3 separate regions of the Homo sapiens genome follow, and regions 1 and 2 are each linked to region 3. The links are contacts of gene promoters, found by promoter capture Hi-C in human tissues and cell types (Jung and others, 2019). All regions are on one chromosome and are shown on one strand. Each heading gives the region's core, a stretch centred on a gene start or on the middle of the fragment in contact. The rest is flanking DNA. Distances are from core to core; before and after follow the strand shown. Region 1 overlaps DDX4 (DEAD-box helicase 4). Region 2 has its middle 20 kb from the start of PLK2. Region 3 holds the start of SETD9 (SET domain containing 9).

Evidence for each region. Contacts are between HindIII fragments. The study calls those that stand out against the background at their distance.
Region 1: a fragment that was not itself captured here is called in contact with the fragment with the promoter of SETD9 in region 3 in 1 of the 25 tissues and cell types used here (spleen).
Region 2: a fragment that was not itself captured here is called in contact with the fragment with the promoter of SETD9 in region 3 in 1 of the 25 tissues and cell types used here (IMR-90 fibroblasts).

The regions. Positions count from the first base shown.
Region 1 is chr5:55,815,816-55,820,776 of GRCh38, forward strand. DDX4 (DEAD-box helicase 4) reads left to right here. Exons shown (of 22, transcript NM_024415.3): 22 at 648-1,342. The coding sequence ends at 725. Among named protein-coding and RNA genes, the nearest start is that of IL31RA, 33 kb to the right of the region's middle. The HindIII fragment of the contact is 5,399 bases long and covers 1-4,872 here.
Region 2 is chr5:58,437,902-58,442,781 of GRCh38, forward strand. No RefSeq gene overlaps it. Among named protein-coding and RNA genes, the nearest start is that of PLK2, 20 kb to the right of the region's middle. The HindIII fragment of the contact is 4,029 bases long and covers 449-4,477 here.
Region 3 is chr5:56,906,046-56,910,845 of GRCh38, forward strand. SETD9 (SET domain containing 9) reads left to right here and starts at 3,551. Exons shown (of 6, transcript NM_153706.4): 1 at 3,551-3,698. The coding sequence starts at 3,601. RefSeq lists enhancers at 3,187-3,276, 4,067-4,116, 4,212-4,800 and silencers at 3,427-3,636, 3,817-4,026. The HindIII fragment of the contact is 10,546 bases long and covers 1-4,800 here.

The sequences.
Region 1 (4,961 bases), core at 923-3,422, 1.1 Mb before region 3:
GGCTGGAGTGCAGTGGCATGATCTTGGCTCACTGCAACCTCCGCCTCCCAGGTTCAAACAATTCTCATGCCTCAGCCTCCAGTGTATCTGGGATTACAGGCATGTGCCACCATCTTAGCTGGTTTTTTTTTTTTTTTTTTTTGTATTTTTAATAGAGACAGGGTTTCACCATGTTGGCCAGGCTGGTCTCAAACTCCTGGCCTCAAGTGATCCACCTGCTTCAACCTCCCAAAGTGCTGAGATTACAGGCGTGAGCCACTGCGCCCAGCCACGAGGCTACAAGTCTTTTCTGGTATGTCAGGTTTTTATAGGCTGAACACCGCCTTTATTCAGAAACAATGAGCATGTTAATTAAATATTTATGCTGATTCATTGAGTGTAGTGCATTAAGTTTTCCCCACTTGTCAAAACTATTGACTTAAAAAATATTTTTCTTGAAACATTTTGTGCAATTTAGATTTCCTCATTTGACAGGAGCCTTTTTTCAGGTGAATCAGATTTAGTGAGAATAAAGTTCTTTGATTATTTGGGGAAGACATGGTAGATACTTTGAGTCCTTGCTCTCAGTCTGAGTGATGTAACTTTAAAGCTGTCATAAAATTAAATGTTTGTTTGTTTCTTTTTTTTTTTTTTTAAATAATTACCAGGGCAAGAGCACTTTGAACACAGCTGGGTTTTCTTCTTCACAAGCTCCCAATCCAGTAGATGATGAGTCATGGGATTAAAGCCAAAACATCCTTCAAGTCTGTGGTTTTGATGCAGAGAAGAAAATAGTTTTGATTTTTGAGTTTTTAACAGAAGTATAAAACTTAACATTCTCATAGCTCCTGTCCTTGTATTCTCACTCCTACACTTAAAAAAAAAATCCTTACTGACTAGTTATGTGAGATGCTAAAACTTACAACATTGCAGTTACTGATACAAATGGTGTTAACTGGGAATATTAAAGCATTCTAAATGTCTTTCTTATTTCTGGTATATTCTTTAGGGGGCTTAGACATGTTTAATGTTTAAATGCCAAGTCTTACTATAGTGTTTATTGATCTTATAAAACAAGCAAATAGGATATGATACACTTTTGGTTAAAAATTACTGGGTCTCATTTTTACTTGAGTCTTTAAAACAGTAGTGTGTCACTATAATGTGATAATCTTTAAGAGAAAGTAGAATACTTAAGCCTTTCAAAGTGATTTTGATTTTTAGATCATCAGATGTATGATGAAAATGGTTAAATGTTTGTGATGGGAGCTCTGTACTCAATGGCATAACAATGTTTATTTTTATAATATACAATCTTTCCTTGAAATAAAGGATGAAACACTTTTCCCTTAAGTTTTCCATCAGCACTTTAAATTTTTCTTTGTTGCATATCCTAGCCCAAACTCCTATATTTTTGAAACTGTTTTTTTGTGTCTTGCGTAACCAGTGCAGTGAACAAAGTCTTACATAAATTAAATATTAATGTATAAACATTACTGCACAGATGTGGCAATGAAAATCAATCTTAGAACTCAAACCCGTTTATCAACAAAAAACAATGCTGCTTACTCTTTCCATAAGTTTTTGATTCATATTTTAAGATTGATGAAAGAACCCTGTCTTTCTTCATTTTCCATTATATATCTTGAACTTACTATGCCTAGAATAATGAAGTTCTTTTTTTTTTTGAGACGGAGTCTTGCTCTTGTTGCTAAGGCTGGAGTGTAATGGCGTGATCTTGGCTCACTGCAACCTCTGCCTCCCGGGTTCAAGCAGTTCTCCTGCCTCAGCCTCTCCCGAGTAGCTGGGATTACAGACACGCGCCACAATGCCCAGCTAATTTTTAGTAGAGACGGGTTTCACTATGTTGGCCAGCCTGGTCTCGAACTCCTGACCTCGTGATCCGCCCGCCTCCACCTCTCAAAGTGCTGGGATTACACGCGTGAGCCACCGCACCCAGCCCGAAGTTATTAATTAATTGTTAAATGAACGAACCCAAATATTTAAGACCCAGTGAGGTGTAAATACTGGGGAGACAAAAATGATTGGTATTAAGTGTTACTGTTCACCTAAACAATCCAAAGTGACATGTCCCTGATGTATATCTTGTTATAGGAATTTAGTTAATAAATGAGGCATCACATATGAAAAAGGAAGGCATATCAACAGATAGTGTTAGAATAACTGGGTAGATGCCTACCTCATGCCATATTTAAAATTAACTTCATGTGAATTATAAAATATTAAAGCTAATAGTTAAATATTAACCCTTTGAAGGGTTGACTTTAAGCTAAGGAACAGAAATCAAAAAAGAAACAACAGATTTGATCACTCAAGGAAAGATTAGTTGCCTACATAAAAAATAGTGAAAAGTAGACAAGGAAAAATATTACTGTGACCACAGTGGTTATCAGTGTTCTTTATATGTGGATATACTAATAGAAGAATACAAAGAACATAGAAACTCAAAAAGGGCACCAGCATGGCACATGTATACATATGTAACAAACCTGCATGTTGTGCACATGTACTCTAGAACTTCGAGTATAATAATAAAAAGAAAAAATGTTGACAACAAGAAAAACTCAAAAAGGGAAGTTCAATTAATAAAAATATGGGACATATTTCACTTTTCTTCTGTTATCTCACTTCTGGGAAAGGCTAAATGAATGAAGGTGTTTGGATTGTTATTTGTAATATCTGTATGTCTTAATTTTCTAGTTTCGTTTAGGAAGAGTATAGGCCAGTCTTGTCTCATTTTTTTCATTGCTTTTTTTTTTTTTAACAGATTGCTCCCTCTGAACTGATTCCTTTTAAGCTTTTGCTTGATTTGTCAGATTACCATAGTAGCATTACTGAATCAAATATAAAAAAGGAAAGGAAATGTATCATACATCTACCACCATTACAGATGAACTGTAAATGTCCCTATGTTTAATTACTCTCCTCATTTCTAGGTATAGGTTTGAATCATCTCTTTAAAAATTATCAAAGTAACATGCATAAATTAGAAAAGAAAATGCCATAGAAGCATTTATAATAGAAAGCAATATTTTTCTGCCCCTCCCCTTCCAAATTGCCATTCCACATCCAACAATCAGCTATTATTAACAATTTCTGTTCACTGCCATCATATACAGGTTGAGTATCCCTTATCTGAAATGCTCGGGACCAGAAATGTTTCAGATATCAGATTTTTTTTTGGATTTTGGAATATTTGCATAATATATAATGAGAGATCTTGGAGATGGGACCCAAGCCTAAACATGAAATTCATTTGTTTCATTATACCTCATATACAACTTGAAGATAAGTTTTGATATTTTAAGTAATTTTGTGCATGAAACAAAGTTTGTGTACCTTGAGCTGTCTGAAAACTAAGGTGTCACTATCTTAGTCACATGTGGACAATCTGAGGCATCACATTGGTGCTCAAGGTTTCAGGTTTAGGAGCATTTGGGATTTTGAATTTTTGGATTAGGGATGCTCAACCTGTATTTTTATGTCACCAACCAGAACGTCTGTTGACTTTGATATATGAAGATTTAACTCACATCTCTGACTCGCCGTAGAAGTATACCTGTGAGATGATTTTAAAGGCACCTTTTCCTTTCCTCTATTTGTATGTCATAACATCTGTAAACTGCACATTTACATTTCCCAAGTTAACATTTGCATTTTCTATAACCATAAAGTCTCCCTTATATACACAGATTCCAGAATTGAAAATCAAAAGCATGTGTTTATATAAATATTGTTCACTGGATGGGCCAATTCACACAGTCTTGATTGCCTCACCTTTACTATCTTCCTAATTTTATGACTTTTGTGTCTGCAGGGAGAATGGGAAGTGTCAGGGTCAAATGAAAACTGCCCAAAGCCATTCCACATACCAGCTTGCTTTGAATTTGGATCACACAATTTTTGAGCAATTTGTTTACCCTGTTTGTAGTGTTTTTTTGTTTTGAAGGAGACAGATCATGCATTTTTCATATTACCTTCCCAGGTTTGATGTTAATTTTCTTAAAAGATCCCAAAAGATATTGGTTGTCTTCACTTTTATGATGAATGCGACTTGTGTGTGATACTCAGGGTGCTTTGAAAATTGTTTTTTTTTTTTTTCTTGGTCCCTAGGAGTGTTTTTTGTATTTGATAATTTTTTTCCCAAGTTTTCTCTGTTCTCTATTTTTGGAGCTTCTATTAGATTCCAGAACTGAATTCTCTATTGTATCTTTCCTGTTTTTTTCATCTTTTATATTCTAGTATATATTTTTTACTTTCAACCGTTTTATTAGCAATTGTTTTTAATTCTCCAGAGCTCGCTTGCTCACTCTATATATGTTTAAATGTTGCTTAATAATAGTGAATTTTCTGCTTTACTAGTGCTTTTTAAATTCCTGGAATTTAACCTAAGAAATCATGTCTTATGTTGATCATTTGTTTTTCTGCTGCTTGGTGTCAGATATCTTAACCCTTGATCATTTTATAAGTTGTAGGTACACATGCTTCTCAATTTACAATGGAATTACATCCCGATAAACCCACTGTAAGTTGAAGATATCAGTAAGCCAAAAATCCATTAAATACACCTAAACCTGCTGAACATCATAGCTTAGCCTAACCTGCCTTAAACGTGCTGACAACACTTACATTAGCCTAAAGTTGGGCAAATTCGTCTATAAAAAGCCGATTTCATAATGTGTTGAATATCTCATCTCATTTATTGAATACTGAAAGTGAAAAACTGGTTGTATATGGGCACTCACCATTAACGTACACAGCTGAAAGCACACTGGGCCAAAGAATGTTTGAAACATCTAGAATTGCTGGATGACAGGGATGCCACGGTGACAGGGCAATCAATTTCTCTTCTGGTGAGGCTCAAGAATAAGCACTTGGGCATCCACACAGAATGCTTTAGCGTTTGGGTGGTTTACACTCGTGGTCTCATGGCTGGCTAAAAGCTGTGTCTGGCTGCTGCT
Region 2 (4,880 bases), core at 1,213-3,712, 1.5 Mb after region 3:
TACCAGAGTGGCATGCTGGTCCTGATAGGGAGCTGAGACAAAGGAACCCACAAGAGAGTTTTCTGACTTCCCAGGAATAATGCCAAGGTTCAGAGTCTCCACAGGTATGGAAGTGAGGGTCTGGGATTTACTTTAGATCCACACTACCTGCCCATGTACTTCCCTTGAATGAGGCCTGGCCAAGGAAGAATGACCCTGCCCCTCTTGGCCCAGCCTTTCTTTGGCCCTAATGGAGACATGAACTTTGGATTCCTCATAGCTCTATAAAGATATCTTTACATTAGATCCCTTAATAGCAGAAGCTTCTGCCTACCTTGGCTTCACTTATGACAGCCATAAGCATTGTTAACTGTACCTCCTTTTGGTAGAACACTTGGCATTCTACAAAATATTTCAAACCTGGTATCCAATGCAATCCTCACAATACTCCTAATGTAGAGTTAGGGTGGTATTATCTTGATTTGCAGTTGAGGATACAGACCCAGGGAAGAACTTGGTTTAGGTCAAACAGCTCGTGAGTGGCAAAGCAGCTCTGGAGACTTCCAGAGACTTCCCTTGCCACAGTCCTATGCTTCCCTTCTAACTGTGGGCAAGCTTCTAAAAAATTAATATCTAAGCTGCTGGGAGGACTCATCTTTATGTTTTTTTTCCAGATGAATTAGTGGCAGTATGTCTTCTTCAAAAAATTATGGATGAAATGAACAAAGAGATAAACTCAGTTTATTCATATTCTTTGTCTCCAGGTTCTATTTACCTCTGACTCTGCAATGATGAATAAATTGTTCGCTTATCTGATGATCAATTTCTGTCTTTAAAATGGAGAGGATAATACTTGTCACCCACTACCATCACTAGAATGAAGGAACTAATGCTTCTAAAGTGTTGTGAAAGAGATGCTCTAGAAATAGAAATATGAGGCTTTTATTGAACACATTTAAATGTGCTTTTTAACTGAAATTATGGTTTTATCAAAGATTCTTGCTACACTGAACTCATCACAATTTGTATTATTATTATTACTATTTTTCCTGTTTTACTTTGAATGCCAATGCAGCAAATAGACTTTCCAATTTTATAGATCTTACCGTTTTACAGACAACTGCTGAGGGCTACAATCCCCTTATCTTATACTGTCCACCGAAGCTTTGTTTTACCTGATTTGTTCTAGCTATAGACATAAACATTGATCATTTGCTCCGCACAGGTAACAACATATTCTATAGAAACTGGCCAAGAAAATTGCATAAAATGATGAAACAGGCTTTGCTTGGACACTAAAAGCGCCACTTCGCTAAATAATCCAGCAATGGCACAACAGGCTTACTGGACAGTCTGACTGTCTTCATTAGTCAGACTGGCTGGCAGGCTTTCTGCGCAGGGGAACTAGAGAGTTTGTAAGCTCTCCAAACAGTCCCTGAGGTACAGCAGCCAGACAGCTGAGGTCTTCCTAATGAATACTTCAACAAGCCAGAGTTCGCAGGGATAAAACCATTAAGCCACAGAGACAGCTATGGCTTTTAAATTTGATGTGGTATGCTAACTCTTGAGAGGACATTTTAAGATAAGAAATGCAAACTTCCACATTGGGTTGGATTGTCCAAAGCACCTGAACAAATAAAATGTTTTCCATAAAGATGTTATTGGCTATCAAAGTTGACTTTGAAATGATACAAAAGCATTTTTCTCAAAGAATCTGAAATTCACAAATAAGAATTTTTGTGAATATTATACTTTATCAACTATATCGGGGAGGAAATTTTTTTCTAAATTTAATTAGTATCATTTAGCTTTTCCTTCTTTTGTTTTAAGGAAGACAATAAACTAATACACTGCTAAAAGTCTTCTAAGAAATAATTATATTTACTCTGCAAAGTAATTTTTAACTTTACTCTGCAAAGCACCTGTCAAAGTTCTTCACTTAGTTGTAATAAGCAGTGTCTAACACACACACACACACACACACACACACACAAAACCAGTTCATTCCTCAAACAATTTTGTTAACTTTCTTAAATACAGGAAGTTCTAGCTTAAATGATTCTTCCTCATGGCACCAGTCATATTTTGCATGCTTTGGTTAGAGATGTGTTTTTTGTGTTGTTTTGTTTTATTTTATAAAGTGAGCAACATTCTTCCATTAACCTGTCAAGAAACTGTTCTTTTGTTCATCTCATGCCCACAAAAACAAGCACACGATGTTTGGAAAACAATCTACAATAATTTCAATGGGATCAGTATGTTAGAATATAACCAAATGTTGAGATTCTCTCTAATTTATTGACCTGAAATTCCTTCAGGGTCACAAGAAACTTGCCCTACAGACATTTGGTGTGTTTTAGTATCAGACTGGTACTACAGCAATAGTGCTAGGTCAAATATCAGGATGTGTAATACTTTTTCTGAAAAGCTCATTGTGCTTCACTGAAAAAGTCACTCAAACACATAGAGAAATTAAGACACTGCCTGTGTAACTGAAATAAATGATTTTTTTTAAAAAAATCAGTTACTTTAGGCATTTCAATGCTGAACTCACTAATGGAGCAGAAGAATGAGAGCTTGAGTCTGCTTTACAGGAATCTGGGGTACTGTGATACAACCTATAGTATCTGCTATTTTTTAAAATAACAATTTTTTTTTAATTTTCAATAAATATATTGACATATCCTAAAGATACTTAAGACTATATTTTTGATTATTAATTCTTGGAAATCTTTAAATACATACAATGAAAGTCTCATTTTAAGTTATTAAAGCTCCCAGTCTTCATTTCTGTTTTTGTTTTTCTCACAAATAAAATTAAAATGTGGCTTCAAGAAATCATAATATGCCATTCTTATGTCATGAGTGCTAAGAGAAAAGCCACTTAGAATCAGGGAAGACCAAATGAATATTTTAAATTGTGATGTAGTACACTAGTGTATTATTTACATCACTAAAGCAAACCACTTGTTATATGCCTGGCATAAAGCACATTCTTACTTTTACTTCTCAAGGAACCCCATAAAATATATCAATTCAATTGCAATTCTAAATGTATTAGCAAATTGGTAATGTTACTAAGTTCAAGGAGAAATTCTTTTGAAGTATCTAGGAATCCAGAAGAACATTATTTTACAACTTCCTTTCCTAGATAAATAATTATGACGTCTTTGTGTGTTTAGTTAGCATTGGCATTTCAGCTAATATTGACCAAAGAAGCTAGTGTGGCTATATTTAAACTCTGTCAGAGTTTCACCACCACATCACAGCACATTTTAAGTATTTTATAATGAATGAGACCTATTATTGCCAGAGCACACTTCAAATTCATTCATTTTTCCTCTCAAATTGTTTTTCCAGTTATGTCTGCCAAAATTGTAGCAAATCACTTTTATTTGAAACAAAGATTTCATATTTCTATTTCAGTCCTTCCTCTCTGAAGCCAGGATGAAATAACGTTGCGATGTAATACAACAAACCATATACTTCCAAGTTGAAATGACAGGTAATTGATTATGAGTCAGTCTGCAAAAGATTGGTGATTAGAGAAACCATATCCTGCTTAAATACATTTCTTTCATTCTCATAAACCAGATGGTACCTTGTGTCACTGACTGTCATTAACAATTTTTACCACCACAGTCATAGTGGTCAACAAAGCAGATAAAGTAAAAAAATAATATAATGTGTAGTAGGATCTGAATAAATGTACATAGCCCGAATTCATTTTTCTGCTGTTGTGCTTAATAAAGCCTAAAAATAAGGTCATAAATGCTTATAGCATGAAAAAAATTTAACCTACCTTTATAGGAAAAGCAATTGAAATCAAAGGTGTGGTAACATAAGTGGGTCATGCTAAATGCATCTTAGCTACATTAAACTCACATGGGATAGCAATGAGTATTTCATGGGATAACCATATAATTCATCTTAGAAATGCATACTTTTTTTGAGATGGGATCTCTCTCTGTCCTCCAAACTGCAGTAAAATGGTGTGATCTTGGCTCACTGCAGCCTTCACCTCCTGGACTCAAGCAATCCTCTCACCTCAGGCTCCTGACACACCAGTTGCACACTCAGGTAATTTTTTTTTTTTTTTTTTTTTTTTTTTGGAGAGACAGCATCTCGCTATGTTGCCCAGGCTGGTTTTGAACTTCTAGGCTCAAGCAAACCTTCCACCTCAGCCTCCCAAAGTGCTGATATTATGCAGTAAACCACCAATCCCAGCCAAATACAAAGATTTTTAACTGACACAAGGCATGATTAAGAGTTTCCCAGGTAAACTGTGTAGTCACCATCCGTATATATGCACTGTGCCTTTGGCAGTACACAGCTGTTCAGTACTGTGAGAAAAAAAAAAAACGGACTGTTTTATCAATAGCAAGCTTAACATGTTCCAAACCATGTAGTGGATATTGAAGGATGCATCTCAGTTGAATTGAATAAAGCATAACTGTAAAGTTATGCTTTATAATTTTGTATAATAAACTGTTTAAAAATTATTCAATTAAGATTTCTTGATTTTCCTACCAAATTTTGTTTCTATGTCACTTTTGGACATAGAGGAGGAATAACTCCTTTCTTCATGCCATTAAAGTAAATCAATTGAAGCTTACTCTTCTACAACTATATTAAATTTTAACTTAAAAAATCTTGCTTTAATCACTTCTTGGCCTTTTGGCAAAGAACAAGTGTAAAAGTCTTGCTCTAATGTACTCAGTGTGATATATCCTCATGCTTTGTTTGTTAGGTTCTTCCCCAAAAGTGGTTTATGAAGAAGTCTTTATAGCTTCTACATCTGTCCTGTTCAGTGTAAAGGACTACCAACATGCTCTCTTTTAAACACAAAATGCCTTTTGCAAACCAAAGTGGACATGGACAAAAATTTATTTTAAAACATT
Region 3 (4,800 bases), core at 2,301-4,800:
ATTTAAAAGAATTGAAATCATTCATGTTTTCTGACACAACAGAATTAAACTAAACACCAGTTACAATAAGATATCTAGAAATCCCAAATATTTGGAAATTAAAAACACATTTCTAAATATTTCATGGATTAAAAACATAAATAACAAAGAAATTTTAAAAATATTTTGTACTGAATGATAATGAAAATACAACATATCAAAATTCCTGAGATTTGGCTACAGTAATGTTTGGAAGGATAGTTATAACTTTAGATGCTTCTATAGAAATGAAGGAAAGACCAAAATCAGTGACCTAATATTCTATTCTAAGAAACTAGAAAAAGAAGAGAAAAATAAACTACTTTATGTTTAAGTAGAAAACATAAAATAATAAAGATAAGAATATGACTGGTCACGGTGACTTATGCCTGTAATTCCAATTATTTGGAAGGCATAGGCAGTTGGGTCACTTGGGGACCAGTTCAGGCAACACAGTGAGACCCCATCACTAAAAATAAAAAAAGAGAGAAAAAAGATAAGAACAGAGGTCAACAAAATAAAAAATAAGCAGGGAAAAGTAATAAAGCCAAAAGCTGTTTCTTTGAAAAGATTGACAAACCCTCAATTACAATGATGAAGAAGAGAACACAAATCACCAAAATCAGGAACAAAAATGGGCTATTACAACAGATCATACAGACATTAAAAGGTTAGTAAGACAGTATTTATAAACAACTTTATACCAAGATATTTGGCAACTTAGACAAAATGAACAAATTCCATAAAAATATAACTTACCAAACAACACAAGATGAAACGGACATTATGAATAGCCCTATATCTTTAAAATAAGTTGAATTTATTATCAAAGAAAATTACAAGCCCAGATGTTTTCACAGGCAAATTCTATCTAAAAAATTTTAAAACATACTTCAAAATAAATGTGGGATGACAATAGCATATATTAAAACCTACAGGATCTGACCAAAGAGGTACTCATAACTGAGTAGTTATGTCAGAAATCCAAGGACGGTCAACATTTGACAATGTGTCATCATTCACTACATGAATAAATGAATAGAAACTATATGGTCATCTCAATAAGCAGAGAAAAGCATTTGATATTTATCATTCATTTAAAATTTAAAACAATAAAAATTTTTGGAAAGTCAAAAATAGAACTTTAAAAAACTTCATAAAGTATACATACCTACTAGAAAACTACAGTAAATATTAAACTTGAAGGCAAAACCTCAAAAATAGAAGAATGCAGTAGACTTAAACCAATATGGGTAGATCTTCAAGATGTATTTTTGAGGAAATCAAATAAGTTGTGGATCCTTATAATATTTTAACAATACTCACACAAAATACTATGTATTTTCTATAAAAACATACGCGGGTATGTAAATACATAAAAATAAAACTGGCAGAAAACACACCCGTCTGATAACTTCTGAGAAGCGCCAAGTACCAGGATTGGTGGAAGTACAAGGTACGGTGTTTGGTTAAGGGTGACTTGAGCTTTAGCTACCATGTTTCTATTTGTATAACTTTAGATGCTTCCATTAGAAAAGAAGAAAAGATTAAAATTAGTGACCTAATAACCTACTTTAAGAAACTAGAAAAAGAAGGTTTTCATTAATTACTTAGCTAACCAAAATTTAATTTTAATACCATAAATATAAAAAAACTGTAAAAATATACAAAAACTGATTTTTTTCTTTTTTTAGACAAGTACATTACCATAGGTAAAGATTAAACTAGTTCTTTTGGGTTCTTTGTTAAGTTTGGAGACTATAAAGAAACTTTCTTGTATGCCACTTATTAATACATCCTGGAACTGAATTGACTCCATTTAGCAAGTCAGGTAAATCTAGATTATGCCAAATTATCAAACAAACACAGAGTCTGAGAGAAAGCCTCTAGAGTTTGCTAACATTCTATATGATATGAACGAAATAGAGACATTGGTAGATACTCTTTCTCTTTATTTCTTTCAGAATAGAACAAATTAGTCCCGCAGCTACTGGCGATTGGCTGAATTTTTTTTTTTTTTGAGACGGGATCTCACTCTGTCACCCAGGCTGGAGTGCAGTGGCGGATCTCGGCTCCCTGCAACCTCCGTCTCTCAGGTTCAAGCGATTCTTCTGCCTCAGCCTCCTGAGTAGCTGGGACTACAGGCACGTGCCACCAACGCTCGGCTAATTTTTGTATTTGTTCTTTTTTAGTAAAGACGGGGTTTCGCCATGTTGGCCAGATTGGTCCCGAACTCCTGACCTCAGGGGATCCACCCGCCTCGGCCTCCCAAAGTGCTGGGATTACAGGCGTGAGCCACTGCGCCCGGCCTTGGCTGAGTTTTTATTAGATCTGAGCCGTTCAATTTCAATAGTTTAGGATCCAACCTCACTCTCAGGCAAAGAATAGAGGAAATGATACCAACGTATTTATCTGTCAATAAACACTTGGTGATTTGAATATGGTTAAGGGATTCCTGTAGTTTGCCCCCCTTAAAACTGAACTTTGTCCAAACCTGTTCTAAATATGTGTGTGCGTGTGCATGCATCTGGGTGTTGGGGAGGAGCGGTCGTAAAGTTCCTTTTAAATTTCACCTATGGGGGACTACTTCCCACCTCATCCTATGAAGTCAACATTAGCCTAAATACCAAAGCCAGATTAAGACACTACAAGAAAACTACGAAACAATATCTCTCACGAACACAGATGCAGAACTTCTAGACAAAACGTTTCCAAATTGAAGCGAAGACCATATTAAAAGGACAAAAGCACCTCAGTGGTTGCTTGGGGACTGGGGGAGGGGCTGGATTACTATCTTGGCTGTGGTGTCGAAAACCTATCAAATTGTTCACTTTAAATATGTGCAGTTTATTGTATCCCAACCATTCCTCAACAAAGCTGTTTTTCAGAAACATTTGTCCATGTAGTTTTGCCTTTGAATGGTTGGGTCAATGAAGAGAAAAACGAGTGAAAACAGGGAATCATGACACTTTGTTTTTTTACGTGTAAATATTCGCAAAACGCCCAAACTGGTAACTTTGGGAACACGGGTTCACGCAGAAGAAGGGCTGCTGTCTGGGGAGGACTGAAACTCGGGTTCCCGAAGTCGGGCTGCTCTGGGGCCACGGAGAGAAGGGGAGAGAACGTCGAGGAAGAGGCAGAGCTCAAGTGGACGGAGGATGGAACACAGAGCGCGGCCGGGACAAAGGGGCAGGCCAGACAGCCGTGACAGAGAAACTAGGCGGTCCGCTCCTGGGACGCGGTCTCGGGGGCGGGTTCGCCCCTGAGGCCCGGTGACCCTTCGCCCGCAACCAGGGCTAGCGCTTGTGTGCGCCCACGGAAGCACCCGAGCGACCGGAGAAAGAAAAAGTGGTCAAGGGGACCTCCTTCCAGCTCTACGCGCCTCTCATTCAGAGAGGTGAGGTCAGGAAAGGGGAAGGACGAAGCCCCAGAGCAACAGAAGTCAGGCGGTGCCAGGAACACTGAGAGCGGAGCCAGGGGAAGGCGGCCGAGCGCGGCCCCCTCTCCTCCCGGGCCGGGGCGGGCCCGAGGCCTCGATCCGCCTTCCCCGCGCCGTCCTGGTCACGGCCCCGCGGGGCAGCCATGCCTGGCCGTCTGCTGCGGGGCCTGTGGCAGCGATGGCGCCGTTACAAGTACCGCTTCGTTCCCTGGATCGCACTGAACCTAAGCCACAACCCGAGGTGAGAGGGCGGGACGGCAGAACGAGGGGCACCTGCCTTCGGTTCCCAGACGCCACCACGGCGGCGGGACGCAAAGCGGAGAGCCTGAGGCTGACTGCCGGCCTGAGATGGGCGGGCCCGGGTGGGCAGGGACTGAGGTGGGCGGGCCGGGTGGGCGGGGACTGAGGCCTCGGAGGGGTTTAAGGAACGCGGGCCAGAGGCGGGCGGGGCCGAGGTTGGTGGAGTCCGAGGCCCGCTGGAAGCCTGAAGTGGGCGGTGGCTTCAGGTGGGCGGGGCCTATGGCCTCTTTCCCAGTGTCCGCTGCGCTGCCGGGCCCGCGAGGCCGAGCTCGCCAGCCGGATGTGTCGCCTGTTCTTCCCTGTTGCGTTCGGCACTGACTGGGGAGCTTGTATCTGGGCAAAAATGGAAACTTTTTAAAAAGACTGCCCTTACCGCGTGAGAGTGCGTGGCTTTTTCTCCACCAGGGGTTAATTAGGTGCTTGAACTTCCTCAGAAAAGCCAAGCCAGGGTTTATTTTCATAGTTCATACAAGTACTTCACGTGGTTAAAGAAGCCCATCCCGGCTGTGAGAATAGCGTGCAGTAGCTCGCGCGTTAAGAACGGGCAGAACGCCACTCAAAAGCACGTCGGGATGGTGGGTTTCGGATTGGGGTGAGTCCCGCCGGCGTTATTAAGGGCGCACCAGTGATCAGCTCAACACCGTGCTCACCAAAGAGGCCGACCGGGCCTCCCTGAAGTCAGTGTCCGACAAATAGGGAAACAAAGCGGTTTCCGGAAGGTTGCATGCTAGGGAAACAGGAGATCAGTTGTATCATGACTCGGAACCGTGAGGCGGGAATTACAACCTTTTTGTTCAAGTAAAAATAATGCAGTTAGTACAAAAAGATAATGATTATGGAAATAAGAGGTGCAGTCATTGAAGACGTTAGTCGTCCTGGAGGGAGTGTCACAAAGTATACGATGTTGAATTTGTCTTTGAAACTACAAGGCCATTTTTAAAAAGCCATTGAATGTGAGGTCATTCATTCTCATTGTGATGACATTCAGCTTGGCTGTTGGGTGTAGTACGGGAAAGAGCTGAACTTCGTTTCTGCCTCTGGCT